7 separate regions of the Homo sapiens genome follow, and regions 1, 3, 4, 5, 6 and 7 are each linked to region 2. The links are contacts of gene promoters, found by promoter capture Hi-C in blood cells and fetal thymus (Javierre and others, 2016). All regions are on one chromosome and are shown on one strand. Each heading gives the region's core, a stretch centred on a gene start or on the middle of the fragment in contact. The rest is flanking DNA. Distances are from core to core; before and after follow the strand shown.

Evidence for each region. Contacts are between HindIII fragments. The CHiCAGO score rates a contact against its expected background, and 5 or more counts as called.
Region 1: a contact is called between a fragment that was not itself captured here and the fragment with the promoter of KCNH1-IT1 in region 2, in 1 of 17 cell types (M1 macrophages). The highest score is 6.1, in M1 macrophages.
Region 3: a contact is called between a fragment that was not itself captured here and the fragment with the promoter of KCNH1-IT1 in region 2, in 2 of 17 cell types (M1 macrophages and endothelial precursors). The highest score is 5.8, in M1 macrophages.
Region 4: a contact is called between a fragment that was not itself captured here and the fragment with the promoter of KCNH1-IT1 in region 2, in 6 of 17 cell types (endothelial precursors, M1 macrophages, fetal thymus and 3 more). The highest score is 9.3, in endothelial precursors.
Region 5: a fragment that was not itself captured here is called in contact with the fragment with the promoter of KCNH1-IT1 in region 2 in 12 of 17 cell types (M1 macrophages, M0 macrophages, M2 macrophages and 9 more); the score reaches 26.3 in M1 macrophages.
Region 6: a fragment that was not itself captured here is called in contact with the fragment with the promoter of KCNH1-IT1 in region 2 in 2 of 17 cell types (erythroblasts and M0 macrophages); the score reaches 5.7 in erythroblasts.
Region 7: a contact is called between a fragment that was not itself captured here and the fragment with the promoter of KCNH1-IT1 in region 2, in 11 of 17 cell types (endothelial precursors, M2 macrophages, megakaryocytes and 8 more). The highest score is 20.4, in endothelial precursors.

Annotation. Positions count from the first base shown.
Region 1 is chr1:210,539,905-210,543,577 of GRCh38, forward strand. The region is part of intron 9 of HHAT (hedgehog acyltransferase); the gene reads left to right. Among named protein-coding and RNA genes, the nearest start is that of HHAT, 210 kb to the left of the region's middle. The HindIII fragment of the contact is 1,636 bases long and covers 1,515-3,150 here.
Region 2 is chr1:211,132,017-211,135,657 of GRCh38, forward strand. It overlaps KCNH1-IT1 (KCNH1 intronic transcript 1), which reads right to left and starts at 1,358. Exons shown (of 2, transcript NR_046784.1): 1 at 1,172-1,358; 2 at 263-1,010. KCNH1 (potassium voltage-gated channel subfamily H member 1) reads right to left here and starts at 2,132. Exons shown (of 11, transcript NM_172362.3): 1 at 1,851-2,132. The coding sequence starts at 1,929. RefSeq lists silencers at 1-122, 1,349-1,539, 2,034-2,313. The HindIII fragment of the contact is 10,582 bases long and covers 1-3,641 here.
Region 3 is chr1:210,562,772-210,566,998 of GRCh38, forward strand. All of the region lies in intron 9 of HHAT (hedgehog acyltransferase), which reads left to right. Among named protein-coding and RNA genes, the nearest start is that of HHAT, 240 kb to the left of the region's middle. The HindIII fragment of the contact is 3,046 bases long and covers 1-2,894 here.
Region 4 is chr1:210,478,006-210,481,818 of GRCh38, forward strand. All of the region lies in intron 8 of HHAT (hedgehog acyltransferase), which reads left to right. Among named protein-coding and RNA genes, the nearest start is that of HHAT, 150 kb to the left of the region's middle. The HindIII fragment of the contact is 1,866 bases long and covers 1,528-3,393 here.
Region 5 is chr1:210,579,877-210,583,633 of GRCh38, forward strand. All of the region lies in intron 9 of HHAT (hedgehog acyltransferase), which reads left to right. Among named protein-coding and RNA genes, the nearest start is that of HHAT, 250 kb to the left of the region's middle. The HindIII fragment of the contact is 3,706 bases long and covers 258-3,757 here.
Region 6 is chr1:210,507,018-210,511,270 of GRCh38, forward strand. The region is part of intron 8 of HHAT (hedgehog acyltransferase); the gene reads left to right. Among named protein-coding and RNA genes, the nearest start is that of HHAT, 180 kb to the left of the region's middle. The HindIII fragment of the contact is 353 bases long and covers 2,795-3,147 here.
Region 7 is chr1:210,449,787-210,453,981 of GRCh38, forward strand. All of the region lies in intron 7 of HHAT (hedgehog acyltransferase), which reads left to right. Among named protein-coding and RNA genes, the nearest start is that of HHAT, 120 kb to the left of the region's middle. The HindIII fragment of the contact is 1,741 bases long and covers 1,374-3,114 here.

The sequences.
Region 1 (3,673 bases), core at 1,083-3,582, 590 kb before region 2:
TTCTCAGATCATCAAGGGCTTATGAAGCATGCCACCTGGCAGCCTTTAATTGAAAACATTGCTTGAAGTACACTAAAAATTATAAATCAAATAATAAAGAAGTGCGAAGGGATTGGATTGCTCTGTGGGACTCTCAGTAGGCTTAATACCTAATTTCTGCCTAAAGTCCTGAGGAGACTGGTCACCCAATAGCCACCCTGATGACTTGGTTACTCTAGTGACATAGAAGATGGCCGAGGGCTTGGTATTTCTTTTTCACAATAGCATCTGGATGAAACTAAAAAGTAAAGAATGTTGTTAGGGATTGTTATTCTCAATTTAGGCAATAATCCTGTAATCTGACATAAAAGATGTTCCGCAACAGCTTTTCTCCCAGGTAGCATTTATCATCAGAATTATAATTGCAGTTTAATATAGTGACAACAATGTAGCAAATATGAACATTCATACAATGTTGCCTTGAGAGAAAACTGGGGAAAAAATACCAAAATATTATGTGGTTTTCTTTGGTGGTAGTAAATAGGAGATTTTTTCCCTCTTACACACACACACACACACACACACACGCACACACATGCACACACACGCACACACACATGCACACACACACAAACACACGCTCTCTCTCTCTCTCTAACTCACCCTCATAGACATACACATAGTGTGTATAAAAATATATATATATAGAAAACACACACTATGTGTATGTTTGCTTCAATGAGTAGTTATTGATTTTTTTTTTTTAAGACATGAGGTCTTGCTACATTGTCCAGGTTGGAGTGCAGTGGCTATTCACAGGTGCAATAATAGCACACGACAGTTTAGAACTCCTGGGCTCAAGTTATCCTCCCCTGCTTAGGTTCCCAAGTAGCTGGAACTACAGGTGTGCCTCACCACACCCAGCTTAATTTTATATTTAAATAAAGTATTGCTTTATTTAATTTTTTTTTTTGAGACACAGTGTATCGCTCTGTTGCCCAGGCTGGAGTGCGGTGGTGCAATCTCGGCTCACTGCAACCTCCGCCTCCTGGGTCCAAGAAATTATCCTGCCTCAGCCTCCTGAGTAGCTGCGACTACAGGCGCACGCCGCCATGCCCGGCTAATTTTTTGTATTTTAGTAGAGACGAGGTTTCACCCTGTTGCCCAGTCTGGTCTTGAACTCCTGAGCTCAGGCAATACGCCTGCCTCGGCCTCTCAAAGTGCAAGGATTACAGGTGTGAGCCACTGCGTCTAGCCAAGTATTGCTTTTTAAATGAAAAAATATAAGACAATATATTTTTATTTTATATTAAAAAAATAGAGACAATACTGAGCAATGTTTCTGAATGAAACCACAATAATGACTTACTAAGAACATCCTGTGCATGGAGTATCATGTTTAGCCACTTGACCAGCATTGTGTCCCCAAATCTTCCTGTGAATCCAATAGACTGTGGGGTTTTGCCATTTTCTAAATGAGGGGAGACAAGCTCTTTGAGGGTAAAGGCTTAACAAAGTCTCACAGGCAGACATAAAGCTTGACTGCTCTAGAAAAGAATACCAGCCAGCTGCGGTGGCTCACGCCTGTAATCCTAGCACTTTGGGAGGCTGAGGCGGCAGATCACTTGAGGTCAGGAGTTTGAGACTAGCCTGGCCAACATGATGAAACCCCGTCTCTACTAAAAATACAAAAATTAGCTGGGTGTGGTGGCGCGTGCCTGTAATCCCAGCTCCTTAGGAGGGTAAGGCAGGAGAATCACTTGAACCCGGGAGGCGGAGGTTGCAGTGAGCTGAGATTGTGCCACTGCACTACAGCCTGGGTGACAGAGTGAGACTCCATCTCAAAAAACAAACAAAAAACAAAACAACAGAAAGAAAAGAATATCTACATTCACAGGGAACTTCAGAGGTTTAGGTGGAATGTCAGCATCCCCCCTGGTCTCCTGGTCTGAATGACTCAGCTGAGGGCCTGGGAACGATTTGCTGTCTGCCCAGTGCCCCAGGCCGACAATGTGAGTGTGGCCTCTCCCTTGGAGAATGTTTCTGCACTGGCCAGGGAGTTCATCAGCGTCAGCGCTTATTCCAGGGAATGTCTGTGACAAGGGTCTGAATGGGGGATAACTGGCCAGTTGGTGGATTCATCTCCTCCTTCCTTCTGCTTTCTCTTTTCCTCTCCCTTGATGTCCCTTTGGCTGTTTTCCCCATCTCCAACCCTGCTTTTTGAATGACAAAGGAAAGTGAAATTCAAACTGTTTCAAGATGAGAGACAGGAAGTTGTCACTATTGACAGACGACAACCTACGTATCCTTATAGGTCTTGATTACTCTTTCTCCATCTGCCTGCCTCTCCCACCTCTGGGCAGGGAATAAATAGGTAGGGGTGGGAGGTTGGCCTCCAACTGCCCAAATTTCTTGCTGTCACCTAAACTGTTACCCCTGGCTTACCAGGGACATGGTCATCCCTCTGGTGTATTTCAAAACACATTTTGATTTCTTTACAATTCAGCAAATGCCTTAGTTTCTTTTCCTGTTTCTGTCATAGCAGTGTTAGGTTTAGGAAATAAGTAAAATTTGGACAGTTTTTGCCGCATCAGTGTTTTAGTTAAAAAAAAAATATATATATATATATATTGGTTGGATGCAGTGGCTTGCCCCTGTAATCCCAGCACTTCGGGAGGCTGAGTTGGGAGGATTGCTTGAGGCCAGGAGTTGAAGACTGGCCTGGGCAATATAGTGAGACTCCATCTCTATAAAATAAAATAAAATATTAGCCAGTCATGGTGGTGTGCACCTGTAGTTCCAGCCACTCAGGAGGCTGAGGTGGGAGGATAGCTTGAGCCCAGGAGCTCAAGGCTGTGGTGAGCTAGGATCAACCACTGCACTCCAGTCTGGTTGACAGAGTGAGACCCTGTCTCTGAAAAAACAAAAATAAAATAATATTGTCTTAAATCATATTAAGTATACGTGTTGTATATATATTATACATATATGGATATATTTATGTGTCTGTATATATTTTGATTGTTTGATTGTTTTACATTTGCAAAAGGTTTAGGGGCTGATCTCAGAGCTGTTTGCCAACAGAGGTAGATTAATATGGCACCGCTGTTCACAGACAGGCATCATGGGGAGAACTGCATTTGCTTCATTGTAATGACCACAGTTAAGCAAAGCTTTTGATTTTCTTTTTCTGAAGCCTTTATGGAACGTTAGTCCTGCCAAGAAAGCGAAAACACATTTAGTGAGTTTGTAATCAGGAGCTGATGGAATAGCCTTTAAAAAAGCAGACATTTTTAAAAAAAGAAATTCAGCTAATTTCATAAATGTGGGTTAACAGAGGCAGGGAAGTTAGGGGAGGATATAGGAAGGGTAAATTTCATCAGTAGGATGGTTTGGCATGCTTTCTCTGAATTTTTTTTTCCTCTAATTTTTCTCTGAAAAATTAATAATGCTCCAGGGTGTTTTTCTTTTTTTTTTTCCTTCTTTTTCTGTGAAAAATTAAGGGAATTGTTCAAATAATCTCTCTTCACTCTTTAAAAACTCATGTCTGGCTGAGCTTGGTGACTTGCACCTGTAATCCCAGCATTCTGAGAGGCTGAGCCAAGAGAATTGCTTGAAGCCAGTAGTTTGAGACCAGGAGTTCAAGCCTGCAGTGAGCTGTGATTGTGTCACTGCACTCCAATCTGGGCCATAG
Region 2 (3,641 bases), core at 108-2,607:
GATTCTTAAGGTTCCCTTAAAACCCAAGGCATCTTGTGACTTTTACATGTAAGTTTCTCTTCCTGCTCCCTCCACTCAAAAACATACACAGTATACATTAGGTACTGGGTTTCCCCTCTAACTTACAGGGCACTGCCTCTTTACTGAAAAATAGAATTGTCATTGATATTTATGAGAAAGTTGGTGTCACTGACAATGGGATAACCAAATTTGCAAGATTGTCTCCATACCCCTTAATAGTCCAATAAAAATAGCAATAATAGCACAGTAACTCTTATTTTATTTAAAAATAAATGAACAACTCCAGCTTTTTTATGGCAAAACAGTTCATTGTGGCTGTTCACATAGCAATTATCATCCCCTTGCATCCCCAGGTAATGACTGTGACCTTGACCTAAAAGCCACCTTAGTTTGAATAAGGAAGACCTTGAAAGGAAAGGTGACTGACCAGAAACACTCTTAAGAGGCACACAATAAAGAAATGATCATTTCTAAGAAAGTACTTAAATAATACGTGATTATTTGCTATGCTAGTTGATGTGTTTCATTATAAGATAAACTTAAATCACTGTTTAATTAAAGAGTGTTTATTAGTAGCATAAGTCACTTTTCATGCCCTTCCCCTGAATCCCTAACTAAATCCAAACAGAAGCTCATCATTTTACACAGAAGCTCCTTAGACTCTGAAATCGTGATATTTACACATTATTAAAACCCATTTCCTAAGTTAGCTCCTCATGTCTCCCTGGTAGAAGAATGTCATCTGTTTCTGGAAGGGGTGGGGTGGGGGCTCTAGGAGTCTGCAAAGAGCATCTTATGCTTGGCTATCTTTCAATATAGCCATTTGATGAACTCGTGCGCTGCGCCTTCCAACTGCCAGGACTCCTAGTCGCTCTGCAAGTGCTTAGTTGGGGTCTCTCCTCTGTTAAGTCCGAAAGGCGTTTGGAATTCTTCCTTTCCATCCCCGCTCCTAGGACTCTCGCCTCTCAAGGCTTCATGCTACCGTCGATCTTAATGCCACAAGGAAACAGATGAGTGCTGATTGTCAGTTTATTGGGTAATGGATCTATTTATAGGTTTGGTGAGATTGGGAATTTATAGGTGAGCAACACTTAAGGGTGGCATAAAACCGTTGTGGGTTTGGAAGAGGGGAAATATAACAGGTTTGTACCTGTGACCATTTAGTTCGCTCTGCACCTGTGCCCTCCACTTCCCACCTGACGCCAGGAAAACCATCTGCCCCTCACTTCGAAGGTGAGCCTTAACTTCACCTAGAAAGTGGTGGGTGGGTGAAGGGGTGGAATCAGGCCGCCGAGAGCACGTCCCGACACCTCGGACTTTTCAGTTGCAGGGATGGAAGGTGGAGGCAGCCGGATCCTCCCATTCTGAGGCAGCGGGGACCTGGAGTTGCCCGTCTCTACTGCTGGCTCTCCCTGGGGAGAGGCGGCGCCTCTGGGAGCAGCCCGGGAGCCCCAGAGCCTTCGCGGAAGGGTGGGCAGTGCCGATGGGGCGCGCGCTGCCGCTCCGGCTGCAGCCAGCTTTCCATCACTTTTCCCAGTACTTTGCTCAGCAGCTGTCACGCATCCTTGGAGATAAGACCGAGAGGGCGCTAGAAAGGCCCAAAAGGCGTCCCCAGAAGAGCTCTCCTGTTAGGATGGGGACCCATCAGACCCCGCCCCGCCCTGCCCACCTTTCTCTGCCTCGGGGAGGCTGCCCTGGGTGCCCGCGCCGCGGCTCCTTAGCAGAGCTCGCGGGTTCTGCTGCATCTGCTGGCTCCGAGCGGCGAGAGGTTCTGCAATAAAGGCACGGATAAAACGCCCGGGTAATCGAAATCCGAATGCACCTCTTACCATTGGACCGCCGAACAATATTCTCCAGAAACGTGTTTTGAGGGGCCACTAGTCCCCTCCTGCCCCCAGCCATGGTCATCCTCCCAGCAGCTCGGGGTCCGGCGGGCGTCCTGGCGCGGCTTCTTACGACAGCAGGAAACTGGCCTCGGGGCCCGCACGCAGTCCCGGCTCGAAGCGCCCCATGCGCCCGGCGGGGATCCGCAGGCAGGGCTGGCGGCTCCCTCTGGCTGCTACCCTCGCGCCCTCTTCGCGCCTCCCTCCCTGCGGCCCGCCTCGCAGTGCACTCGCGCCGGCCTCGGCTAGCGGCAGCCGCCTCCGGGTGGGCGGAGGGAGCAGCGGCGCCTGGGCCGGCGGCGCCCCCTACCGGGCTCGTGCCCCACCGCCGGCCTGCGGGAGACCAAGCTGGGGGGCTCCCGCAGAGGCAGGGAAGTGGCGGGCGGCCGTGGACCAAGGCTGGGACGGCAGCGCCACCCTCTGGGTTCAGCCGGGAAATGTGTTCAGGATGTGCCATGGGCTGGGTGGAGAGGAGGGCATTGTGAGCAGCTTTCAGGGCGGATTCACCCCCAACAAGTCTTAGGGGAGCGTGCTGATGTAACTCTCTTCCTTTGCTCTGTTTCAGGCCGGGGCCCCCGGGACCTGTGAGGCTCTGGGAACACCTTCTTGCCTTCCTGTAAGGTTAGCCTGACTAGTGAAAGTTGCCCCACCTTGATTCTAGGCCAGTGTTTGAGCAGTAATTAATGAAGTCGTATTGCAATAGTGCAGATTTAGAGTGACTGGCAGATTCAGCTTCAGAAGAGTTGTCTTGGGTTGTTTTTACCGTAGACACAAATGCAGGCTCCTGATGTTTGGTATGATCAGTATCAAACTGCCTGACAAACATCAAAGGGGTGGACTTGTCTCTAAGGGCGAATGCTCAGGAGAGGGGCAGCATTAATTAAGCAACCGTGGCTTTGGCTTGAAGGGTAGTCTGTAGTGCAGAGGATACAGTTAGTTTTTACAGCTGACCCCTGGTATACGGAAGAACCACATACACCCAAGGTTTCTGGACAGGGGCTAAGACAACGGTCGTTTGTTCACTTATTTTGGGGGATTTCGACCCACACATAGTCTGTACCTGCCTTTTTACTATGTATCCCCAGTCGGTGCGGTGGGAGACTAAGCCTATGTCCCACAGGAGAAATGAATGGAGAGTTTACTAGTTTCAGACTGAGTCAACAGTCAACACAAAAATGTAAGAGAAAAAAAAACTAACCCTGAAAATTAATTGTCTGGGTTAGCCATCCTGACATATCCTAATGTATTGCAAAGACATCCTGTCTCAGTTAATTAATTTCAAAAACAGAAGAACTAATTCTTGCCCAGAAATCTCTCAGAGTTGCTGTGAAGATCAAGCAAGAATTATGTATGGGGACAGCACCTTAAATTGTAAAGTGCTGTGCCAAGGTCAGACGTCATTATTGGAGTGACTAAATAAATTGGGCCATTACGAATATCACCCTTTATCTCGTCTTGTGTAGAGACAAAGTAAACAGATTGCTGTTAGCAGAGAGTTGGATAAGACTGTCATAGGATTTGAAATGCAAGTAATGATACACTTTTTCCTTAAGATAGCCTTCTACCCATCGCCTGTTACCTAGTCTAGAACAGTGATTTCTTAAACCCTAGCTCCGTCTAGTGGTTCTTTGTTCTATTACAAATGAGATAACACTGGTTGAAGAGAACTTGATTCTGAAATGTATTTGGTGCTGAGCTGAGCCAGTTTGGTGCCTATCCACTTCATTTGAATAAGTT
Region 3 (4,227 bases), core at 122-2,621, 570 kb before region 2:
ATTAGGTATATTTCCAAATGCTATCCCTCCCCCCTCCCCCCACCCCACAACAGGCCCCAGTGTGTGATGTTCCCCTTCCTGTGTCCATGTGTTCTCATTGTTCAATTCCCACCTATGAGTGAGAACATGCGGTGTTTGGTTTTTTTGTCCTTGCGATAGTTTGCTGAAAATGATGGTTTCCAGCTTCATCCATGTCCCTACAAAGGTGGGTTTTATTGCCTCCACTAAGGATCAGGAGCCTGAGGCTCAGAACGGATAAACTTGGCTCGGAGCCTCGCAACTTGTAAGTGAAGGTAGGATTAGAATCCAAGGGTGAATCCATGCCTTAACCACTATACTTTGAGGCCTCTCCTTGGTTTTAATGCTTCTGGGTCAAGTGATTCCGCCTGTGGTAAGTACCTAGAGGGAATACAGAAGGGTACTGGGCATGTGGGATATAGATTCTGGAACAGATGAGGTCTCAGCCCTGTGGGGTCCAAATATAGCTAAGAAAATGAAGCAGCTGAGCAACTGTATAATTATCCAAACTGTAAGAATTTAGAAATAGCAGAAAAGATCATGTTAGGGGCCGGGGATCATAATTTGGGTTTGGAAGATGGATGATGTTAATCTGAGATGGCTTCCAGAAGGAGCCTAAAGGTGAAATCAGAGTAGAGTGGGGTGGAAGGCAGTTTATGGGATAGTGGGTGGAAAGCACGATGGGGAGGGTTCTTCAACATTGCGGTGGAGTGAAGTCCAGGGAGAGCCTCTTCAGATCCCCTTCACAAGGGCACTCTTGCACAGTGATTCCTGGAGGCTGATCATGGGAGAGCAGGGAGTTGGGAACCACTTCTTATCTATTCAGTGGTGCTCTCAGCAACTGTATGACAGATCCAACTCTCAGCATAGGTGTGAAGGAGAGAACTTGGTTTTGATACTTCTCTGATATTTTCCCCTCAGCCCATTGTTATTCTGTTCCATAACCTCATATTGGGTCTTCACCATGCCAAGTTACTTGGGCTGGCCTCCTCCAGGGTGTACCCCTCACTTCAGCTCTTTTCTCTTCCTCCTTGCCTTCCAATTCATTTGGAAGATATTTCTTGAGCATGTACTGTATGTTAGCATCAGTGTATTATTAGCCTCAGTGAGTGGTTGACTAGCTGGTTAAGGTGATAGATGAACTCATACTACATTGTTTTTGTTTGTTTGTTTGTTTGTTTTGAGATGGAGTCTCATTCTGTCATCCAGGCTGGAGTGCAGTGGTGCAATCTCAGCTCACAGCAACCTCTGCCTCCTGGGTTCAAGTGATTCTCCTGCCTCAGCCTCCTGAGTAGCTGGGGTTACAGGAACGTACCACCATGCCCAACTATTTTTTTTTTTTTTTGTATTTTTAGTAGAGATGGGGTTTCACCATGCTGGCCAGGCTGATGTGGAACTCCTGACCTCAAGTGATCCGCCCACCTCAGCCTCCCAAAGTGCTGGGATTACAGGCATGAGCCACCGCGCCTGGCTTCACTATATTGTTAATGTGCTGATGTGGTCTCCTAGTGTGAGCACGTAGAAGTTAAGAGACAGAACCATGAGTGGTTGCTGATACTTTTAGAACTAGGCAGAGAATAAGTAGCCTGAGAGGGAGCATGAGGAGCAGTGGCTCTAAAGATGAAAACAGAGAGCTCCATTGGAGCCACAGAAGCAAAAATGTGAACAAGGAAAGTCATGTGGAAGGATGCTCATGATTAGGTGAACAGAACAGTTTCCTGAAGTGGAATGTATGCCATCCTATTCTTATAAGAAGTATGTGTCTATGTGTATTTATAGAAAAATGTCATAGAGGACATACACAAAAAGGTCATTGGTAGTTCTGGATTTTAAAAAATACTTCTAAAGGTAAGGAGTACAGTAGTGGTAAGACATAAAGCAGAAATTATCTAAAGAGGAAAGTGGAGGGCACTGTCAATGCACAATGTAATAGATAGGACAAATAAGAGAGAGACACAGATGTAGCCATTGGCTGTGACAATATGGAGGTCTTTGATGACCTTGACAAAAGCTGATGGAATGGGGAGGGGAGGGGAGGGGCAGAAGTCAGACTGCAACAGGTTAAGGAAGAAATGGGATGGGGGGTCACTTAGAGACTGTGTGTAGACTGCTCTTTCAAGGACCTTAAATACCTGCTTTTAAAAAAAGCCATTAGGATTGAGGCTGGAAGAAGTTGTGGATGAAAGAAAGACATTTATGAAATGGGAAAGACTGGAGTGCATCTTTAGGTTAAGGAAAGAACCAGTCAGATAAGTTGGATAGAGATACTGGAGATGGGAGGTGGGAAGGGGAAGCATGGTTCCTCAGGAGGCAGAAGGAGATGGAGCTAACAAGCAGAGTTAGCCTTAGTCGTGGAAAGGACATCTCTTTAACTATGGGAGAAGGGACAAATCGTGAATGGACATGTGCCGATGGTGATAAAGATGATGTATATGGTTCGGGAAGGAGAGGGTGCTCATATGATGGTCTTCACTTTCTCAGAAAAAAGTGGTAGATGCAAGCTCTGCTGTGAGTTAAGTCTGCCCTGAAACAAATGTCACCACAGGCATCCTCAGTATTAGGTTGGATGTAAGCTCTTAGTCTGATCTGGCATGTTCCTGTACATCTCTGATGTGTTGCACAGTATCAGCATGTAGTAGATGCTTAGAAAATATTTGGTGATGATGCAAATATATGGTTAGGAAAACAATGTGGCATTCCTAGTCTGTTCTTCATTATTCCTGTCGTTCCATGAATTCTCCTTCTATTTCTGGCTCCATAATACCAGAGGAACACAAACAAGGAAGTATCTAAAAAAACAGAAACGATGACAGTGAGAGAGTTTGGAATCACAAAGAATGGACAAAGAAGCTGAGAATCTGTAGCAGGCAAAAGCAAGCTTTTGGAGAGACCCAAAAGCCCTCATCAGCTATTTTGCAGGCTGCCAGTTGGTGGGTTGGTATTTGCTCTGTGTTTCTTTGAAGAGGAGAGTCAGGACCAAGCAGTGAAAAGCACCAGGAAGCATGTTTTCTTCAACCTAAGTTGTCTAAAAGTAGAAAGACTGTTTCACAAGCTGAGATCTCCTGGCCGCTAAGAGCGTGGAGGTATAGGCTGGATGGCTCTTGGTGTGGGTGTAGCTCAGGGGTCTCTGGGCAAGACGGCCTCTTGGATCCCTTCTAGCTCTAGCGTCCTCTGTGCCAACTATAGGGGGTCATTCTTGGCCTCTGGACCTCGTGCTGTCATCAGGAGTTTCTACCAGATTTGAGTAGAAATGCACTGAACTTTTTTTATCACCTCATAGTTAGTTGGATACTTTATCTAGATCTGCCATGCTTTGCTGCTACAATGTTGGTTTAGGTTCACAAACATGACCCTGAACACTTAAAGTTGCCAAAAAATTAGCAAACGAAATAGGGTGGAAAGCCCAGAACATGATGATTGACATTTACTAGAGGCTCAGTAGATATTAAAAAGCTAGAAAATATTAAACATTGTCTTTTTAGTGTTAAGCATATAGGTTATCTATATTCAATATTTGTAGTAATCATGGGGAAACAACTTGGTCTAGTGATGATGTGGACAGGAGACAGGGAAATACTGGGCAGAAGAGGGTGGTTCCCCAGCAAAGGCCCCATCCTCAAGCCTGGATACCCATGACCCTAAATGAGAACAGGCATTCTTGTTTTTGTTCCCAAAAGTTGCCTTCGCAACCATCGCACCCCTATCCTGTACCCATATAAACCCCAAACCCCAGGCTCCAGAAGCAGATGAGGAGACAAGGAGATGAGACAAAGAGATGAGCTGATGAGTGGCAGAACAGCATGGCAGAGAAGGGGAGAAGAGAAGGAATGTCTGAATGCTGAGAGGAGTTCAGCTGGTGATGATCAGAGGGGAGATCGGCCGCTAGATGGCCAGACTCCAGGGGAAGACCATCTTTCCACTCCATTCCCCTTCCAGCTCCCTATCCATCCCACTGAGAGCCACCTCCACCACTCAGTAAAACCCCTGCATTCATCCTTCAAGTCTGTGTGTGACCCAGTTCTTCAGGGATGCTGGACAAGAGCTTGGGATACAGAAAGCTGTCACACTGGCCCCCTGCCCTTGCAAAAAGGAAGAGGGTCCACTGAGCTGGTTAACACTTAAGCCATTCACAGATGGCAAGGCTAAAAGAATGCACTGTAACACATGCCCATTTGGGCTTTGGGAGTCGCAGCCTCCCACCCCTTGATG
Region 4 (3,813 bases), core at 1,211-3,710, 650 kb before region 2:
TGTTGCAGTTGGGATTAGGTCCCCTTCTTGCAGTCTGGTTTTAATGAAAAAACTGAGAGCTAAGATCTTAGGTTCCCCAGGATTTCTCAAGTGAGTTCCTACTACAGAGTGGGATGTGGTATATTTGAGACAGATGTATTTCCTCCTGAGTTGTGTGGTCACTCACTCTAATAGGATTGATCCAGAGGGAAATTCAAGGGACTGGTTTTATATGTTATGTTTTTTGTGTGTTTCATTTTCTATTAGATAGCAGATTTAATTTTCCGAAAGTTTTTAGCGAGATCATTTGCCAATATTTGCCTTTGGCTCAATCATGATCAACTAAAATGTGGCCTAGGTGCCTTCCTTCCTCAAGGCTGTTGGTTGTGAGAGTCCTATCAGTAGAACCAAGAAACTGGACCAGCCCCTTTCCTGGTTTGAGTAAAGACTTCAATTAGAGTTATAAGTGGAATTTGGCTGTGGTCCTTGGCTATTGGGATGGTGAAATAGGAAGGTGAGGGGCCGAATCTCTGGAATCTAAGAAAATCTTTAGCAGCCTAAGGGTTCTAGGTCTCTTGCCTGTGCTTCAGAGGAGAGGGAAGGATGTTAGGTGAGGTGGAGAGTGATTCTCTCCCACTCTGTGAAAGCATCTTCCTAGTGGAGCCTTGACCACAAGGGACTCTTCGGCCCTTTTCCAGCATAATGTAGGCAGAAAGGAATTTTCCTTATGACAAGTAGGGACAGGACCTGCCCTCAAGAAATCTATGCAGGCTGTTCTTGTGTGAGTTTGTCATATATGCACCTCAAAAGTGCCATTTATCCAGTCTTAGATGGATACTCTGGAACTGTTGGCCCCGAGGAATGTGTCATGAAATGTTTTTCTGGTGCTGGGAAGCATTTTTCTGGACCCCTTCCCTCCATAATGAGAGACAAGCATCTGGGAGAGGGTTTGCAGAGTGGTGGCATCTGTGTCATGCCATCTGACCCGTGTGGGCTTAAAGTGTGATCTCTTGGCTGTTGTACTCTGACCACTGAGTGGCTGGTGGAGGTGCCAGCAGCAGGAGTAGCAAACAGTTTGTCAGCTGTTCCCGGGCAAGTTTTATCAGCATCACACTGAACAGAGTGTCCCCTATCGTTTGACCTTTCCCCAGATTATTCTGTAACTTCATATTTGATTCTTGGATGGTCTAGATTATTCTCATCAATACTTCGCTTACAGACTATTTAGACTTGTTGTAGAGCCTCTCAGAATGAATTGTACCTGAAAGTCCAAATTCTCTTTGGTCAAGGAGTATTTATTGAGCACCTACTATGGGCCAACCATTGACAAATGTATATGATACAGAGCTGAATAGAGGAGTCCCTGCCCTCAGGGAGTTAATACTGACAAGTAATGTGTCACAAGACAGGCATGACCATCACTGAGTCTCCATAGCCCCTGAATGTTTAAAAACATTTCCACATCTATTGTCTCATTTGTTGGTTCAGTAGATTAGTCGGAGAAGGCCTTGTTTTTGTCATCTCCATTTTATTGATGAGAAAAATAAAAGCTTAGGTTAAATGATTTGCCCAGAGAGGAGAGTGGCAGACCTGAGACAACACCATGTCATCTCCCAATAGCATGTCCTAGTTTACTTGATGTTGGTTTCTGTAACAGTTTACCAGTGATTAGCTTTAAACTGTCATGTCTTTAAAATGTAAATATTGTGGTCAGTGGATACCTTGAAAACTAAATGAAATTACACTAATTCCCTGAAAATAAGTGAAATAAATTGTTTTGTTTGAATAATTGTACGTCACTTTGACATAAAGTTGTTGGAAAAGCAGAGCAATATTTTAATTCATTTAAAAAGCATTTAAGGGAGTTATGTAATGATGTAGTCTAGAGAATAGAGCATGAGCTTTGGAGTCCAGCAGACTCGGAGTCACATCCTGTCCTTACTAGTTCTGTCACCTCGGTCAAGGTACTTAACTTATCTAAGCCTTAGTTTCTCTACCTGTTAATGGGCTAATGATGCCTACCTGCTGGGGTGAAGGTGAGAATTTAATCTTTCTGTATAAATTAAGGTTCATGTTCTGTTTGTTACTGGACATTCAGGCATTAAAGGTGTGTGTGTGTATGTGTGTCTTTTGACTAAACTGACACAATATGAATTACATAGCTATTGGAAGTTCATATGGGGTAGAACAAGGTGTAGTCACCCTCCAGGGATACTGACACCAACGTCCAAAGTGTGCTGGAGGTGAATCAGGATTGAGAGAGACCTCACCTCCGTATTGAAATCCCACGGACAGACTGCAAGCTGAGGAGTCAAAGTTGAGCCAGCAATTAACCCATTTATGCCTGAGGTTGCAATTTTTTGAATATTTGCAATCAGACCTCGGCGATGACATTGAGCAGTAGGATATAAGTAACTCCCACATGCTTCGTGTTCCAGTAATGGAACACTAGCCATAAATAGTTGCCAGGGAAGACATGGAGCTGCAGCTATTGATATGTAATGAAGCTGCTGCTTACATGGGCAACTCTATGGAGCTTATTCCAGGAGGCACAACACCAGGGATTTTAGTTACTAAGGATTAATGCAAATATGATGGTGCTTGGCACCCCCCATTTCTGTTTGGAGCCCGTTACATCCTGCACCCCTTGCTGTCTTGCACTTTCCATCTACAGTCTGCCTCTAGAAACCTGGCAGCTGTCTACCTGGGTTCAGCTTCAGAGCCTGCAGGTAAACTTTGTTCCCCATCCAGCCTCTGCTTCCCTTTAGGCTCAGCTGACCTCTCCCTGATAGCTCCCCTCCAGGAGAGCATTCCCACCTTATTCCTTTATTTTCCTGGATACACTCATGTGGGACTTTTCCTCTAGGAAGGCACTTGTCAGATCTCTGCTTCAGGGGAGGCTGTGACTCCATCCATCTATCCATTCACTGATCGAACAAATATTTGTTGAGTGCCTGTTATGTGTCAGCAACTGTGCTTTGTGCTGGGGATATAGTAGTGAACAAAACAGGCAAAAGCACATACGCTCACATAGCTTACTCTCCAGCTGGTAAGACAGATAATTAACAAACCTAATAAATAAGCGAATGATATGGTGTGTTAGGATGTGTGATAAATGCTATGGCAAAAATAGAGCAGGATGAGGAGGGGGACTTGGAGTTCTGGGGGAAGGGTTGCAGTATACAGTTAATATCACTTTACAAACACTGAATTAATGACCACTGGGCCATTGCTTCTAGGGGAAATACAGGGTTAGGTTCCTGCTAGCCTCTGGTTACAAACTTCTCATCAACTGATAATACATAACTTTGTTTTTTTGAATGTTTCTGCTTAAAGATGCCTTCTTTACCATATGTAGTCAATTCATTCACATTGAACTCATGGCCAACAGCACCATAACTTGTGCTTGAATAAAGCTTTTCTAACACTTGTGTTTTCTCCATAAGGCTCATCACAGCCTTCCAGTACTTAGCAACGCTAGACAGCACTTCATTACTGTGCTTGGGGGTCACTTTTAACAATGAAATCGCCAAAAACACAAAAATGTGAAAAACAAGGCACTAAATAGGTGGTAGAAAGGATACTCCTAGTATGAGAGCTAAAGCATGGAGGTGGCATGGGCCTTGTCGGATCTCACCCAGCTGAGGTCCTCAGCAGCACTTCAGACTTCATTGGGTGATGTACATATTTTGCTGCACAGAACTTGTCTGTGAATGGCCACAAAAGTGCCTCAAGTATTGATTTTAAGGTTACAAATAAATTTTAGTGAGGTGAATTTGCAAATACACAATTTGTGAATAATGAGGATTGAGTGTCAATGAATGATCAGCATAG
Region 5 (3,757 bases), core at 861-3,360, 550 kb before region 2:
TTGTGGTTGAATCTTTCTCTAAGATGGAAGCTACAAGCTTGGGTTCATCAGCACAATACTTCAACTCACTGAACTACCAGCTTCATGGAGCGAAAAGAAAGATTATTTAAATGTTGGCATCTAATTACATTTACCTAGAAGTTGAAGTGTAGGCTAAATATAGCTTGAATTTAATTTCTGTTTTATAAACCCTACAATGTTCTGTTGCCAAAGAGGGCATAGAATTTTTAATAGATAATTTTCAGAATTGCATATGAAGCTTATGTACAGCATCTTTTAGTAAAGGAGCTGAGAATTAGCCCAGCTCAAAATATTTTCCCTGCTTTGAAAATAGACTCCTCTTAGCCTTATGGAGGATGACAAAGCCTGTGGTTGCCCATTAACCAACTGCTGGTTATTACTTGTTAAAATGCTGTTATTATCTCTACTGGACAGAAAAATATTAAAAGCAAATTATATTCCTTTTTGTGTACATCTTCCTTTGAAAACTTTTCTTTCTTTAAAAAAAAAAAGGGGGGATACGTGTACAGAACGTGCAGGTTTGTTACATAGGTATACGTGTGCCATGGTGGTTTGCTGCACCTATTGACCTGTCCTCTAAGTTCCCTCCCCCCACCCCCCACCCCCCAGCAGGCCCTGGTGTGTGTTGTTCCCCTGTCTGTATCCACGTGTCTCATTGTTCAATTCCCACTTATGAGTGAGAACATGCGGTGTTTGGTTTTCTGTTCCTGTGTTAGTTTGCTGAGGATGATGGTTTCCAGCTTCATCCATGTCCCTGCAAAGGACATGATCTCATTCCTTTATATGTCTGCATAGTATTCCACACATTTTCTTCATCCAGTCTATCATTGATGGGCATTTGGGTTGGTTCCAAGTCTTTGCTATTGTGAATAGTGCTGCAAAAAACATATGTGTGCATGTGTCTTTATAGTAGAATGATTTATAGTCCTTTGGTTATATACCCAGTAATGAGATTGCTGGGTCAAATGGTATTTCTGGTTCTAGATCCTCGAAGAATTGCCATACTATCTTCCACGATGGTTGAACTAATTTACATTCCCACCAATAGTGTGAAAGCATTCCTCTTTCTCCACAGCCTCATCAGCATCTATTGTTTCCTGACTTTTTAATAATCACCATTCTGACTGGTGTGAGATGGTATCTCACTGTGGTTTTGATTTGCATTTCTCTGATGCTGAGTGATGTTGAGCTTTCTTTCATATGTTTATTGGTCACATAAATGTCTTCTTTTGAGAAGTGTCTGTTCATATCCTTTTCCCACTTTTTGATGGGATTATTTGTTTTTTTCTTATAAATACATTTAAGTTCCTTGTAAATTCTGGGTATTAGACCGTTGTCAGATGGGTAGATTGTGAAAACTTTTTATAAGTAGATATGTAGCTTCCTTTCTGAGAACTACCTAGAAGATGGAGATTTGGCTGGAGGGTCATCACTGGCTGTGAGAAAGAACACTAAAATGTGGGCCAAGGCCAAAGCTAGAGCCAGGGTTGGGTCAGGGGAGCTACTGCCCATGAGAGCTGGGCTCAGGACAGCACAGCCAGCTCTGTAGAGAAGAGAAACCTGAGCAGGGGCTGGTCTCAGGGCCCAGATGGAGCCAAGGTGAGGTCACCTCACCACCAGTGTAACATGGACAAAAGTCTTGCCTTTCCTAGCCACTAAAGGCTCTGTTCTTTAAAGGACTAGTACTTTTACTTTGGGTGGTAAATCTCTTAGGGTTGGAGTAGTTCCAGAGGTGTGGTGACACATACTTTTGACTTTAGTAGGGTAATTAGGATTACAAAGTGTGGAGAAACTTCAGCATCTTTCAATGCTCTGTATTCTTTAGGAATAGGTGTCTTCCAAAGTCTCCCAGTACCTGGTACAGGACCTTATAATCAATCATCCTTTCATTTCTGTTGCTTATAATGGGTCCATGACAATGGTGACAATTTTTAACAAGTTTAAAAGCTATTCGAGGCTATCAGCAGTAAATGGAAATTATGTTACGTATTTAAGTACTGTTGACTAGTAGCTGTGTAACATACACACGCATACACATACACACATCACATATCTAGTGCTGTCTGAATGAATCTTACAATTGAGTTAAAATGACACCCATAATAGACACATTTTGGTAAAAAGCTGTTCAATCAGTGGAACAGACAGTACACACAGTAGGTTCCTGGGTTAAATTGCAAGTTGGAAAATGCAAAAGAGACTTCCTGGAGTTGGGAAATCAACTGGATTTTGTAGACTGAGTAGGTGTTGGAAAATCAGGGAGGATGGAGCAGTGTCTTCTAGATGTGAAAATGGTATGACCAAAGGCACGGAGCTGTCAAATCCTCTTTTATTCAGGATTTTAGGATTTGTCACCAAAGCCAAGTGGGGAGAAGGGAAATAAGGGTGGAAAGTTAAGGTGGAGCTAGAGTAGGATGTCAGCAACTGCCTGCCCCAGCCCGGCCGAGGAATGGGTAAGTGATTACAGGAAACCAGCAAGCCCACCTCGGCTCAGTGCAGGAAACCGTAGTAAAAGCCATGTCTGTCAGTGTCTGGTGCTTCATCTTCATACTTTGTTGGGGTCTGGGATTAGTCTGTCATAGAGTTAGGTGATAATGTAGCAAGCCAAGGAGCTATTGTATAGGTCCTTGGAAAAAAGAAGTGTTGCGATTTTAAGATTAATGCGTTTACCACATGGATTGTTACCACCCCTGTCTCCCACTGTAGGGCGTATATTTGTGTTGTTTTTCATAGTAGGTATGAGGGAGCTAGATATTTTCTTCTCCCTTTGTGTACCTCTACTCAGCATCACCCTAGCCACCAACTTTTTATGCCCCACTTCTGACACAGGCAGACGTCTGCAGGATGTCAGGGAGTTGAGATAGCAGGTGTTATCTCTGCTTGTGGGACAGAGGGCAACTACTTAGTCTGTTCAAAAGCGGAAGTTATACCTCTTGTCTTCTGACACTGAACAGTGGCTAACAGAGCTCATTGGCTTAAATCCCTTTGTAAATTGTAATCATTATTCTCTTGAGCAAGAATTCTTTCCTAGAAAGGACATTTTTCAGTTAATAAAACATCAGTGGATGTTTCTGTGGAGACTGTTTTGAAGATTTGGTTAAACGAGAAATATATCAGTGAAAGCACCCAGCCCTGGGGTTTCTGGAACTACAACATTCTAGGAGCAGATTTTACCTCTCCTATATAAAATAGGCCTAGTTATTTCCTTGGAGGGTTGTTTTAATGATTAGAAATAGTATGCATAAAGCACCTGGTGCATGGGCACTCAGTAAAGGGTAGAAGTCATCAATACTGTCTACTATTTATATAGATTCCTCCTCCTGAGTTGGGGGTTTGCTGTGGTGCATTGATTCAGTGAGATGCTTTTAAATTAAGAAGGTGGCTGCAGCATTTTCTGTAAGCAGTGACCACGCGAAGCCGGCCAGGCAGAGGCAGGCTTCGTGAAGACTCAACCTGACATAGTCACTGACGAGAAGCAATCTTTTTAGTTTTGCTTTGCTGAGAAGGTGGTGCTGATTGCTTTCTTCCATTGGGAAATCAATTTATTGTGCAGCAAATCTTAGTAAGCAGTTTCATACTATTGCTTTTCTAAAAAAAGAGACATGTTTCTGTTTTTATTAATCATGGAACTGACAGAAGATGGTAGAATTTGTAAAAGAAAATAACCTGTTTGCTCTCCTTTTTACCACACGTACTGTCTTCTATAAATTAGGAATAAAGAAGGGATTTTTATCTT
Region 6 (4,253 bases), core at 1,721-4,220, 620 kb before region 2:
CCAGTATCTAGCACAGAATGGGCACATAGTAAATATTTGTTAAATGAGTCTGTGGTTGAATATATGAAGGAAAAAGCACAGACATTGGTGTCTGCTCTGAGCTAGATCCTGATTCAGCATTTACTAGTCATGAGACTGGGAATAAAGACACAAGCCTTTATAAAATAGGACCTATTTCACAGGGTTGTGGTGAAGATTAAAAATTGAGAATATACAGAGTGCTTAGCCCAGTGTTTGGCATATACTTCTAAGAAAACAATGTGTATTCTTTTCCTACTGTAGCTCCTTAAGGTGCTTTTTCCATCTGTATACAAAAACTAAAGAAAACATTTTTCTTTTTTCTTTTTTTTTTTTTTTTTTTGAGACGGAGTCTTGCTTTGTCGCCCAGGCTGGAGTGCAGTGGTGCAATCTCGGCTCACTGTAACCTCCGCCTCCTGGGTTCAAGTGATTCTCCTGCCTCAGCCTCCCTAGCAGCTGGGATTACAGGCACCCAACACCACGCCTGGCTAATTTTTGTATTTTTAGTAGAAACAGGGTTTCATCATTTTGGCCGGGCTGGTCTTGAACTCTTGACCTTGTGATCTACCTGCCTTGGCCTCCCAAAGTGCTGGGATTACAGGCGTGAGCTACCGCACCTGGCCATGAGAATATATTTCTAGAGTTCATTGCATTGCTAGTGTTTTGAAATTAAAGATGGCCCTACAAGGGAGGCCCCACCCCTGAACTCTTTGGAAGGAACATGAGTTAGGTTTACCATGGTAAAGAGGAAATCCATACTATACATTTCAAAATCACTGATGGAGTAAATTTCAAATATTCTAATGACAAAAAATTTGAGGTGATGGATATATTAATTAGCTTGATTTAATCATTCCACATTATGTTAAAAAATCATAGCATGGCCGGGCATGGTGGCTCATGCCTGTAATCTCAGCACTTTGGGAGGCCAAGGCGAGTTGATCACGAGGTCAGGAGATCAAGACCATTCTGGCTCACATGGTGAAACCCCATCTCTACTAAAAATACAAAAAATTAGCCAGGTATGGTGGCATGCACCTGTAATCTCAGCTGCTCGGGAGGCTGAGGCAAGAGAATTGCTTGAACCTGGGAGGTGGAGGTTGCAGCGAGCCGAGATCATGCCACTGCACTCCAGCCTGGGTGACAGAGTGAGACTCCTTCTCAAAAAAAAAAAAAAAAAAAGTCCTAGCATCACTTCGTACCCCATAAATACATACAACTATAATTTGTCACTATGTAATAATAATGATAATAGAAGAATGAACTCATGATTCTGAAGAAGCTGCAAAAGCCCGCAAATTCTGGTAACATGGAACTAGACCTCTGGTTGGGTAGACCACAGTTTTCTTTTGGATAGAGTCACTTTCTCATATGATACTTAATAAAATTATTAAGTAATGATGAAATAACATTTTTAAAATATCACATAAATTTAAATAACAGTTTATAGTTTTAAATATGTTTGGTTTATTTTTTTCTAATGGGAACAGGATGAAAAGGCATATACATTCTTTAAGCCAAACCTTTAGCGTCGTATCAAATATGTTGCCTGACTTATTGGTGGTGGAGTTGGTAAGATTAAGATAATGGCTCTTATGAAGAGCAGCTTTATGAACCACTTCATTCTTCCAGCCAGTAAGATAGCTATCACTGGTTTTATCATGTGGTCTTGATTTTCATTTTATATATGTTCACTCATTTACAGCTCAAAAACAAAATATATGAGGAAAAACTAATCCGAGTTATAGAAATTAGATTCTGATTTTAGGATGCACTGTTAATTTCTCTCTATACACAAAAAACATGAACTTGTTTGCTTTTCTTTTGCAAGGAGTGTGCTTTTTATCTTTCATTTTTAAAATGTTGAAATAATCTTAAACTCACAAACATTAGAAGCACAGTACCTATGTAACATTTTCCCCCTGAATTATTTGAGATTAGGTTGTGGACATGAAGCATCATCACTCTGAGTACTTCAGCGTATGCTTCTAAGGACACTTTCCTATGTACTAGGTTGGTGCAAAAGTAATTGTGGGTTTTGTCATTACTGTCAATGGCAAAGACCACATGCAATTACTTTTGCACCAACTGAATAACTGCAATATGCAGATTGAATATCCCTTACTTGAAATGCTGGGGACCAGAAATCAGTGTTTTGGATTTCGAGCTTTACAGATTTTGGAATATTTGCAATTATACTAGTTGAGCATCTCAAATTTAAAAATCCAAAATCTGAAGGTGCTCTCATGAGCATTTTTATGAGTGTCTCATTGGTGCTCAAAAAGTTTTAGATTTTGGAGCATTTCAGATTTCAGATTTTTGGATTTGGGATACTCAGCCCTCTAATAACAAAACTCAGGAAGTTAAGGTTGGTGCATTCCTACCATTTATTCCTCAAAACCAAGGTACTGTTCCCTGGGGGGTCTTCTGGCTAATGGAGACTGTCTGGGCTCAGGTGTTAGTTTTACCCCTAACTAACAATCACTTAACCTCTCTATGCTTCTGTTTCTTCCTCTGTGGTGCAGATGATAATAGTATCTATCTACCTCATAGGGTTATTGCAAAAATAATTGTATGTGTGTAGAATGGATGAGTGCCTGGCACATGCTAAGCACTGTGTGTGTGTGTTGGCTTTTACTATTAACATCCCCCCTTCTCCACTCTGTGTGTGCTGCACTGTGCCTGCATGGTGAGAAACTATAACCCTTTACTCTCCACTAACCTCGCCTGCCTTTCTCACATGATCCAAGGAAAGTGAGAGGCAGCATTAAATTAAAGCTTGTGTATATTCTACTCATATCTTGTAGTCATTGCAAAGGCTCTTATATTTACAGGTGATTTTTAAAAAACCTGCTCTTTGTCCCACCTCTGGAGTTAGAATTAGTTCTCAGATACATTCATCCTTTCATGCATTGGGTGTCTATACAGAATTGTCATTGGGAAGTATTTTCAAAGCCCTAAGATGTGCTTTGCAAAGGAAATCTTTCAGGGCTGTAAGAATGGATAATTTCCTGGCTATTAGTTGAATAAGAAAGACATATTTTGCCTTTCAGAGATTGTTATATTTTATAATGCAGAAATGGTTTTGAATATATTTAGTTTTTAAATTTTCAGTAGGTGGTGTGCTAAAGCTTAGTGTCCTTAGCTAGGTCTCATGTTACAAGTAGAGGAGGAGATGGGAGAGGGAATTGGTTTGGCTGGCCACCATTTCTATGAGGAAGGGCACCTGGAAATGGAAAGAAATGAATTGACTACCACATCACCCCCGGAGGCCATGGCTAGGTTGAATGAGAATGATGGTGTTGGCATGAGTTGGATGAACCTTATTTTTTAAAAACTGATAGCCATCCAGACACAAAAGCACAAATACTGTATGACTCTGCTTACGTGAACTTCCATCACTTTCCAGAGCCTGGCTAGCTGAGACGGAGGAGGTGGGCGGCACCTGGGGAGAAGCAGGTGGGCTTCCCTGGAGCAGGGCAGCCATGCTGGGAGAAGCAGAAATGAGGTGGAAGTGGGAAGACATCAGCTTTTAACATGAACCATCATTTTCAATTAGTAATAATGAAAGGCAGTGAGAACCCTGCTTTTAGCAGGGTGCTTGGGAAGAGCAAGTAATTCGTGCATTTTAGGGTTCAGTTTGATTTCCAGCTTTTTTTCTACTGGCTGTCAGCTCTGGGCATACCAGTACCTGCCTCACCAGCATGTATATGTGAGCACAAAACATAGTACTTGCCACATTCTAAACAATAAATATAATTTCTCATTATTAGGTTTTTCATTACTGTTTCAGTGCCTTCCTCTGACCCCACTATATACTGCGGATCTCTGTGATTTCTTCCATGTCTGCTTTGTCCTGTGATTCCCGGAATAGAGTCTGTTGGTCTCTGTCGCTAATGTAATTGAAAAGGCTCTACAAGCTTTGGATGAGTGAAGGAAGCTGAAATCTTTGTTTTAATCTACACATACTTCTACCTCCCATATTATAGATCTGGCAACCTTAAAATTGCTGTCTGTGGTGTGGATATTTATTTATGGGGCTGAACAAAGTAGCCTTGGTTTTGGTTGAGAGAAGAGATCATTTCTATTTTTAAAAAATTTGTGTTAAATATAATTTTAGGAAGAACTTAGCATCTTATCCAGGTCAATGTAAAATCAAATGAAACACATCAGCTCTCCCTACAGGTAGATCTCTCCTTAGAGAAGAGCTCTGTGCAGAAGACTTATGAATAAGT
Region 7 (4,195 bases), core at 994-3,493, 680 kb before region 2:
ATGGTCATTTAATTCACATCAGTTCATCAAAGTTTCATTAGGTCTCCATAAAGAAATTTCTACTCGCTAATTCGCTCTCTAAATGTTGGGTGCCAGGTGCTGTGTCGGGCCACAGGGACAGAGAGGAAGTGGAGATTTCCAGAGGGAGGATGCATCCACAGTTCTGGAATTCGGGGGAAATATCAAAGTTAGCGATACGTATTTGGGATTCAACAGTGAGAATATGGGCTTGGCGTGGTGGCTCACCCCTGTTATCCTGCACTTTGGGAGGCCGAGGTGGTTGGATCACAAGGTCAGGAGTTCAAAGCCAGCCTGGCCAACATGGTGAACCCCATCTCTACTAAAACTACAAAAATTAGCGGGGCATGATGGTGGACGCCTGTAATTCCAGCTACTTGGGAGGCTGAGGGAGGAGAATTGCTTCAACCTGGGAGGCAGAGGTTGCAGTGAGCCAAGATTGCGCCACTGCACTCCAGCCTGGGCGACAGAGCAAGACTGCGTCTCAGGTGGGGGGGGTGGGAAACAGTGAGGATATGGCCATTAAAGCTATTGGGAAGGGTGCCAACTGGGGAAAATGTATGGAAGATCTGCATAGATCACTGGAGCCTTGGATACATCCTGCTTTTCAAACATTTCTTCTGTGAAAGGGAAGATGTTCTGAGTGCAACTTTCCTATTCTGAAGGATTAAAAAATTATTTTGTATCTTATTTTTAAAAAAATTTTTTTTGAGATGGAGTCTTGCTCTGTTGCCCAGGCTGTAGTGCAGTGGCATGAGCTACCGCACCTGGCCATATCTTTTATAATTGGTACATTGTAAATCTTTTTTTTTTTTTTTACATACCCCAAGGACTGTGACAATAGCAGAGGGCACATTTTATAATGAATCTACATATTAAATAAATATATAGATAAAATGTACAAACAGCTTTCCCCTGGAATGCTAGCAAATTTGAAAATTAGCTGAGGATTTATCTTTTGAGGGAGCTTTGATAACTGGCAGTAACGTTTTTTCTCTTCTACTTCCTACACTATGGGATAGGGTGGTGTTAAGTTTTGTTAAAAGTGCGGGCAGATCACGAGGTCAGGAGATCGAGACCATCCTGGCTAACACGGTGAAACCCCGTCTCTACTAAAAATACAAAAACAAAAATTAGCCGGGTGTGGTGGTGGGCACCTGTAGTCCCAGCTACTTGGGAGGCTGAGGCAGGAGAATGGTGTGAACCCGGGAGGTGGAGCTTGCAGTGAGCCGAGATCATGCCACTGCGCTCCAGCCTGGGCAACAGAGCGAGACTCCATCTCCAAAAAAAAAAAAAAAAAAAAAGTTGTTTGTAGCACTATTTGTGGAAGTATTTTTAGCAGAACTCTGCAGAGAAGCTTGGAGCTTGGTTTCTCTGGTAGGGAGTATTAGATTGGGTCTGGGTCGCCGCTGATCTTTGCTCTCAGACTAGCAGAGCATTGTTTCTTCACAACTAAGTTGTGCTTATCAAAATGATAGCAGTCTTTAGCTAATAAAATGAAAGGTCACTTCTGTGGCATAAGATTTCTCTTTGAAATTCCCTGCATGTTCTCTTTTTGGATAACTCAGTGATGAATGTCAGAATGAATTTGGAACATTACCTTTGAAATTCTGCCACAGAACAAACTGAACGAGAAAGGTGACTTTTTTTCTTTTCTATACCTGAAAATCAGAAAATATTAATGAAATTAGTATTTGGAAAATTAAAACAACAGAAAGGTAATTTCTATTTTTCCAAGAAAACTGCTATTTACACTTTGAAATATCTTTTTATATTTATATTTATTTATTTAGAGACAGGGTTTCACCCTGTTACCTAGGCTGAGGTGCAGTGGTACGATCATAGCTAACTACACCCTTGAACTCTTGGGATCAGGTGATCCTCCCACCTCAGCCTCTCAAGTAGCTATGACTGTGGGCATGCATTACCATGCCTGACTAATTTTTAAATTTTTTATAGAGACATGGTTTTGCTATGTTGCCCAGGCTGGTCTCCAACTCTTGGTCTCCAGTGATCTTCCTGGCTCAGCCTCCCAAAACATGATATATCTTTTAAAAAATGGGAAAAGAAAGTAGGGTATGGAACTTGTAACCTAGATCTCTAAAACTTGACTGGGCATAATTTTCTAGTGCTTGTTTTATATAGAGATTTCAGATCTCTGGCTCAGATACTAAACAGAATCTTTCAAGGAGAGGCTAGGATTCTCTGTGATTATTATCCCAGAAGGTGTTTAGGACCAGATGAATTTCAGAAGTGCTGTTGTAATTGCTAAAGATCACCATGGGGCATCTTGTTATAGAAAGATATTCTTCTTCATAGACTGCCAATTCCCAGCGATCTAAGGACTGATAAGCTAATTCATTATTCTGATCCTTGGCATTCTCCCCCTTCTCCCTCCCATAATTCGCCTCTCCATTTTTCTATTTTTCATGCTTTCTATGCACAAAGGCTGAGCAAGGAGGTGGGATTGTGCTGAGATAAGCCCATTTTGCTCATTGCCCCCTGCACATGCATTCAATTGGTAGTGAGGAGGAAGTTGAATATTTAGGGTTCAGGTGGGGGCTCTCAGTGCCTCCCCTTTTAGAATATTGCATTCTGGAAAATTAAAAGCATAAATGTAGAATTAACCCTAATGTATTCATCTCCCAGGTTCAACAATTATCAACTCCTGGCCAGTTTTCTTTCATCTGTACTCTCTCCCGTATTGTTTTGAAGCAAATCCCAGATATCTTATTATCTATGAATATTTCGGTAGTATCTCTAAAAGATAAGAACTGTTATATTCTTTTGAACTTCAGAATCTTCTAAGAAAACAGAACATGGCAGAGTGGAGCTATACCCTAACTAGGCAGAGCCTAGGATTAAGAGGAGCAAAGACAGTGACTTGAGGTTTTTCTTTAAAAGAGCTCAGAAAGGTAATATTTCTTCAATTTATTATTGAATGGTGCTTCTCTATGGTAAATCCATGGTAAATCCAGGTATATGAGTTTATGGGAGAAAAGAGAGCTTTAGCAAGGGATTTGAGAGTGAGCGAGGAGATAGAAAAGTGAAAATAATTGAAAGTTGGTTGTTCTTACATGGCAAAGTTTATAATAAAGCTTTGTGGAATGTACATTAGAGTCCTTTTTGAAAGACTTAATTGTTCACTGATTGGAGATTAAAAACCTGTCTAAGTGTAAGTAATCAGAGTTTTTTAGCTCAGTGTTTAAGTACCAACTGTTGTTGAAATAACGCCTGTGCACCTATCTAAATGGTAATGAAATGCCAGCAAAGTTATCCATTTGCTTTTTCTCATTCTACAACATAACAGTGAGAGGAAAGGGATAAGACATTTGACGTCTGATCCTTGTTTTGAAAGCTGGGGAGACAAACATATATCAGTTAGCATAAGATTCCTTTCTTTTTCCCCTCTTTTGAGGCATTAAACATTCTAAGGTTCGTTAAGATACAGTAGAAAAAATTTTTATAAATTTTCTTCTTGGATTAGAATCCTAAGGTTATTTAAAATTAATGCAGTGTAAACCTAAAGCTACTCTGGGATTTACTACTCTGGAACTTGACTGTTCAATTACAGATATTCTATGTAGTGTGAAGATAATTTCATGGTGCATGCTTGCAGAATGGAAGAGATGCCTGCTTGATGTGCTGTTATAAATATATACTGAAATGTAGCAAGTTGCAGCACAGTTATTTAAAATACCCCCTATTCCGTGCCTTCCCTTTCCCCCTTTCTCTCCTTCCCCCATAGTCCCCTCAGAATACCATGATCTTTGTTCATTCTTAACTAACTCATTATTGTGCTGAGGTAACTTGGTGTACGGACAACTTCTTAGATGCAGAAAATACTTGTATGTTTCTTTTAAACCAGGTTGACATATGGAAATCTGAATTTGTTGGATACTTTGAGGGGGGTAATTATTTGCTTTCTAAAGGGATTCTTTACTTTTTTGAAGGATTTGCAATAGAATCCTTTAATTAGTAGTTAATTTCCAATTCAGTCTACACATAGATTTTACAGAGCACTTCTTTTAGGCAAAGTGAGTGATGGACTGTATTAGTTTGTTTTCACACAGCTGATAAAGACATACCCGAAACTGGCAATAAAAAGAGGTTTAATTGGACTTACAGTTTCACATGGCTGGGGAGGCCTCAGAATCACAGAGGGAGGTGAAAGGTA